Regions from separate parts of the Homo sapiens genome. Here region 2 is linked to region 1. The links are contacts of gene promoters, found by promoter capture Hi-C in human tissues and cell types (Jung and others, 2019). All regions are on one chromosome and are shown on one strand. The core of a region is centred on a gene start or on the middle of the fragment in contact, and the rest is flanking DNA. Distances in the headings are between cores, read along the strand shown. Region 1 holds the start of QSOX2 (quiescin sulfhydryl oxidase 2). Region 2 overlaps NSMF (NMDA receptor synaptonuclear signaling and neuronal migration factor).

Evidence for each region. The method cuts DNA at HindIII sites, captures the fragments that hold promoters and counts their contacts. A contact is called where the count stands out against the background at its distance.
Region 2: a fragment that was not itself captured here is called in contact with the fragment with the promoter of QSOX2 in region 1 in 1 of the 25 tissues and cell types used here (spleen).

What each region holds. Positions count from the first base shown.
Region 1 is chr9:136,244,266-136,247,162 of GRCh38, forward strand. It overlaps QSOX2 (quiescin sulfhydryl oxidase 2), which reads right to left and starts at 1,547. Exons shown (of 12, transcript NM_181701.4): 1 at 1,211-1,547. The coding sequence starts at 1,538. RefSeq lists silencers at 1,075-1,484, 1,515-1,784. The HindIII fragment of the contact is 9,280 bases long and covers 1-2,897 here.
Region 2 is chr9:137,445,064-137,447,960 of GRCh38, forward strand. NSMF (NMDA receptor synaptonuclear signaling and neuronal migration factor) reads right to left here. Exons shown (of 16, transcript NM_001130969.3): 16 at 2,507-2,897. Among named protein-coding and RNA genes, the nearest start is that of MIR7114, 3.6 kb to the right of the region's middle. The HindIII fragment of the contact is 6,315 bases long and covers 1-2,897 here.

The sequences.
Region 1 (2,897 bases), core at 297-2,796:
CTGACCTCAGTTCTGAGTCAGGTCAACAGGGACATAAGAAAACATGAGATCAAAGAGGAGGAATCCATTAGAATCAAAAGGCCCCAGCTCTCTAAGAGGAGAATGCATTTTAAAGATAACCATTTACAGTAACATACAAAAGCCCTACTTAGACTTGAAAAAAAGTTTCTTTACAAATCTGTTTGCGATGAGAAAAATACAGCAGGATTGGGTGTAAGGCATAAAAACAAAGGTGCAGGAAGAAAGAGTAGCAATTTGTTACAGATCTTGCCCACTGAAACATGTAATTTGAGGTTAGCACAACACAGGAAGTCCTGCCAAACCTCACTGGGTCGGGAGGACCTCCTACTTCAGTGATTTAAATACCATTTTAAGGGAAGGGTGTTGTGAATGCCCCCTCCCACGCCAACTCTAACCTGTAGAGCAGGCGAGTAACTTCGTGACTGGTTAACAACGTGCGACCAGATGAAAGCACTAAACAATAAAGTGCGGAACACTACCAGCAGTTTGGTGAAAGATTTCTCAAAGGCTGTGCATCTGTGATCAAGGAGCCCACCAATGAAATTCTTTGTAGAGTTAAAAAAATTGCTTTATAGGTTGTTTTGGGGTATTATAGAGAAGTCTCCAGAGTATTTGGACTTCTAAGTTGTGGGTTCACTTTGAGCACCCACTATATGGCCAGCGATCCGAACCAGAAAGTTAATGATGAAGGTTCAAAGGGAATGGGGTGGCTACGAGTGTGGAATAGGAATGAGGGATCCTCAGAGAACAGGAATTCTGGGCACTGGGGATGGGGTGTGTGGACGCTAGGAAACAGGTAGGGTAGGAGGCCTGGAAGGTCAATGAAGTTCTTGGGGCTCAAAACATAGGTATTTTGAGAGCTGGGATACGGGAGGGCTTCCCTATCCCCAAGCGTGCGGTGAGGGCTGCGGGAGAATGGTTTCATTTTGACTTCAGACAGCCCAACTCGTCAGGATCTAACGGGGATTAACTGGGAGAGACATGGGGAGCAGCTGGCTTAGTCTCCCGCCCCTGGAAAGGCCAGGGTTGGTCCGAGTCGGGTGCCTCTGTGGGGCAGGGACTGGCTCTGCGGTAAGGAAAGAAATACGGGGGAGGGGCCCCGGGACCCGCCTTCTGGGGCGGTCGCAAGGGGTCCCGGAAGGCCGCGGTCCCGGGGGTCGGGGGGTCCCCGCGCGGGGGCGCGCCTCACCTCGCACATCCCCAGCCAGGGCCCGCCAAGTGGGCGCGTAGCCGATGCAGTGGCCACACCACGACGAGTAGAACTGCACGAGCCACGCGGCCGAGCTGTTGGCGGTGGCCCCGCGCACGCTGCCGCTGTCCAGCACCCACACGGCGTCCTCGCCCGCGCGGTACAGCCGCGCCGCACCGCCCGCGCCCGGCCCCACCGCCGCCGCCGCTAGCAGCACTAGCAGCCGCGGCAGCCGTGCGGCCCGCGGCGGGGGCGAGCGCCGGGCTCTCAGCGCAGGTCCCGCTCCGATTCCCGGGCTGCGCGCCACCGCCGCCCCGGCCGCCGCCATGTTGGAAGTGCCGCCGGCGCGCTGAACTTTCACCCTGGCAACCACCGTCACGTGCGCCGGCGCGCCCGGCCCCGCCCCCGCGCGCCCAGTTCTGTTCCGCCCCGCCCCCTCACGTCTGACCCCGCCCTCTCTCCCCGCCCCCGCCCCCGCCCATGCGTGGCAGCCCCGCCCCCAAGAGTCTGATGACGCCATCTCCCCGCCCAGGCGCGGCAGGCTCCGCCCAGGCCCCGCCCCACCCCGCCGCGCGTTCCCCAAACCCCTTCCCTGAACAGGGCCAGGTGGCCACATTTAGCAAATGGAAGTGCACGACGCCAGGTTCAACGTGAATTTCAGACAAACAGTGAGTCGGTTTTTCAGCCTAGGTCTGTGCCATGCCTGAAATACAAATTTAACAAGACATTCTTAGACGTAAAAAACTATTCCGGGGTTCTTTTACTTGGCAACCCCACCTGGGGCTTCAGAGGGTCTGCAAGCCAGCCTCGACTTTTTAATATGATATTGGAACGCTTAGAAAATGCAGCAAAACATCCACTCAAAGTCAGATGTGTTGTGTGCTACCTTTTAGGATGTTCCAGTCGAATGCAGCTTCACGGTTTGGAAATGAAATCATATGACTTTTTTGCTTCATTGAACAGGATACCTGATTTTTTTTTTTGTTCCTATTCCTAATTTTTACACATGTCAAGATTTTCTCTGAACTGTGTGACCAAAACAAAACAAGGGAGTGGGCGAGCCTGGGCAACATAGCGAGAGCCCATCTCTTAAAAAAAAGAAAAAAGCCGGGCATGGTGGTGCACACCTGTAGTCCCAGCTACTTGAGGGGCTAAGGTGGAGGATGGCTTGAGCCTGGGAGCTTGAGGCTGCAGTGAGCCGTGACTCTGCCACTGCACTCCAGCCTGGATGACAGAGCGAGACCTTGTCTCAAAATAAATAGATAACTGTATTGTGGGGTTCTGTGTAAGATTTTGTTTAAAAGGTTTTGCTGCTAACAATGGTTAACCCCAGATGAGAGGATTCTCCCCAGAGGGCCCCTGGCCAAGGCGTCTGCTCCCTTTTCCTCACGTCCTGCGTCTCCCTGTTCATGTTTCCTTCCATCACCCACGTTTCCTGGCTTCTGCTCTGTGCCAAGCCCTGGAGACAAATCAAGAACAAAACCGAGCCCCCAGTGTCCCTGGCCTGCATTTGGGCAGACCCCAAACAAACCAACGCGTAAAGCAGCCACCGCGTGCTATGAAAAGCAATGAAGCCGGACACGGAAGCAGGTGCCAGCAGGGCTGCCGTACAGAGGAGGGTGGGGAGGTCTTTGAGAAGGTGACCCGAATGGAGAAGGAGGTGAGGGAGGAGGCACACATGCAAAGG
Region 2 (2,897 bases), core at 172-2,671, 1.2 Mb after region 1:
AAAAAAAAAAATTACAAACCAGAATTCCTCCACACCCAAAGAACTGTGAGAATCCTGACCAGCAGGGAAGAGGCCATCAGCAGACACCAAGGTTGAGAAGGCGTTGAAATGACAGAAAGACTGACAAAATCTGTTTTTTAAAATTTTACTCATTTAAAAATTTTTTCTTGAGACAAGGTCTTGCTCTGTCACCCAGGATGGAGTGCAGTGGCGTAATCTTAACTCACTGTAGCCTTGAATTCTCGGGCTCAAGTGATCCTCCTGCCCCAGCGTCCCAAGCAGCTGACACCACAGGCACGCACCACCACCACACCCCATTAATTTTTTTTTTACTTTTTGTAGAGACAGATATTCGGGCGCCCCCAGTCTAGCCACACGTATGCCCCCCAGTGGTGGTTCTGGGAATGACCAAGGTTGGCTGCTGAAGTCAGTTGTCTGGGTGAGTCAGAGTGAGACACACAGACACACTCACAGGCACGCCTGAGGGTTGGGGGGCGTTGGGGGTGGTTTTTGGGTACTTCTCAGCTCCTGGGCTCCCCAGACCTCCCTTCCCAGCCCTCAGGCCAGAAAGCAGGGGTGACAGAGCGCACAGAGACGTGGGAGATTTGGCAGCGGGAGGGGAGCTGACCCGCCTGCCTGCAGGCACCAGGACAGGTGCAGGGAGCCATCGGGGCCATCTTGCCCCTTTCAGGGACAGGTTTTATGTTTGCTGTCTCCTGCCCCCACAGAGGCAATGCTAACAGCAAGGGTGTGACCGCCACAGCTCCCTCCACCATTCCGATCATGTCTACATTATTGATTCCTGCTCACGGGGGTTTTACCTTACAGACAGGAATCACACCTCTGCTTGCCCTTAGACACTCCTGCACCCTGGCGGGAGGTCTCCACACAGCCCCCAGACCACACCCCAGGTCTCAAGGGTGGCTGCTCTGCTGGGTGCACATCCGGCCACGGGGCCACCCGGGGGGCCACTTGGGGTTGTGTAGTGAGCGTGGAAGTGCAGACCTGGGGGTCTGCACTTGAGAGCAGGGCAGGCAGGTCGCTGGGGCAGGCGGGGGCCTCCCCCGTGCTGTTCCCAGCCTGCCAGGTAGTCACGAGAGTGCATCCAGGCAGGTGGCAGGAGACATTGCACATCGATGTGAAGCGTGACCCAGTCACTTGGAACAGCTGGACCTGTTGCATCTTCCTCCTTAGCAATAAGCCTCGTGAGCATCGGATCCTTCCAGAAAAGCCATTGTGCGATCGGGCCACACCCAGATTAGCGGGCACAGCACAGCGGGGCAGTAGACACCCTCAGAAAAGGTGCCAGGGGGCGGCTGGGGCTGGACGGGCTTGTGCACTCATCAGTCACACTACTTTTAAGAGCTGTTACCAGATTACCTTAAAAAAAAAAGCTGTAACAGGCTGAGGAGGCAGGAGGATTGCTCGAGGCCAGGAGTTTGAGACTAGCCTGGGCAACAGAGTGAGACCCTGTCTCTACAAAACATAAAAGAATTAGCCAGGCGTGGTGATGCCTGTAGTCCCAGCTACTCCGGAGGCTGAGCGGGTGGGAGAATCGCTTGAGCCCAGGAGGTCAAGACAGCGGTGAGCCCCAGCCTGCGCGACAGATCAAAACCCTCTCAAATTGAAAAGGGGGTTACCTCGTCGCTTTCATTGGCCTTTCCATGATTCCTGATGGGATGAGGACTTTCTTCATGGAATTACCAGCCAGTTTCCTGCTCTGCGAATGATTTCTCCACATCTCTGCTCACTTTTCCATATCGGTTTTTGTCATTTTCTTTAGCAACATATAAAAACTCTTTAAATATTAAGGACCTTAATCACTCCCATGTGTGGCAAATATTTCTTATTTCTTCCCCAACTATTTCTGGCTGCTGCTGTTTTTGTATTTCAAGGGAGGCGAGGGCGGGTGCAGCAAAGTAGCCGAGGTTGCCCTGGTCACCGGCCCCCCGCCCTGGCCCAGCCTGCCTCCACTTGGGGCCACCTCCTTCCCCGTTGGCACTTCTGCGTCTGCTCCTGTGGGGCCACCTCCTTCTATGTCTGCTCCTGGGCCTGCTGGCTTTGACGTGTCTTCCTCCTTTCACTTCCCCCGGTGGTCATGGCATGAGGAATGGAACCTCATGGACCATACATAAGGCCCCCCAGGCCTTACTCACTCCAGCAGACCCTACGGACCGGACTGTGTGGGACAGGCATGCGGCTGGCAGCAGCCCCAGGAGCCACCTGACGGGTTAGGACTGCAGGGTCCCTGTGGCTGTTCTGGGTCTCAGAGCTCAGGTGACGGACAGATGTGCCTTTGGAGCAGTGCAGTGTGTGGGCACGTGGCGACCTCGCATGCTGTCCTACTTTGAAGAGTGCCACCCTTGAGGCCTGCACGGCAGCGTCAGCAGATTCCAGGCGGTGGCGACTTGTCTCATCAACTTTGCAGAAAGGAGACTCGGATCCCCCATGATTTCACGATATGTCACTTTCAAATAGTAACTGAATAACACAGAGTCTACAGGCATTTGGTATTTACCTAAAACTTTATACACTCAAATTGGCACCAAAACCTGCCCCCTCCCGGGACCCCATCTAGAATGCCCTGGAAGAGCTGGAGGTGGCTGACGGCTGTGTGACCACCCCCAGCACACTGGGCCTCAAGCCTGCCAGGCTGTGCCAGGCTGCGCACCAGTGGCCCCCTGACCCTAGCCCAGCTGATACGTGCTGCTCTGTCCCCCAGCCACGGGGCAGGGAACCAGCTGGCAGCCAGCCTGGCTGTGCCCAGCAGCGGTCTGGGCCCTGAGGACACCTGAGGTTGAGAGAGTGGCCCCCATCTGTGGCCACACTGCTGACTGCACACACAGTGTGGCGTGAGGGACATACAGCCCTCTCCCTGGTGCCCTCAGGCGGCAGGG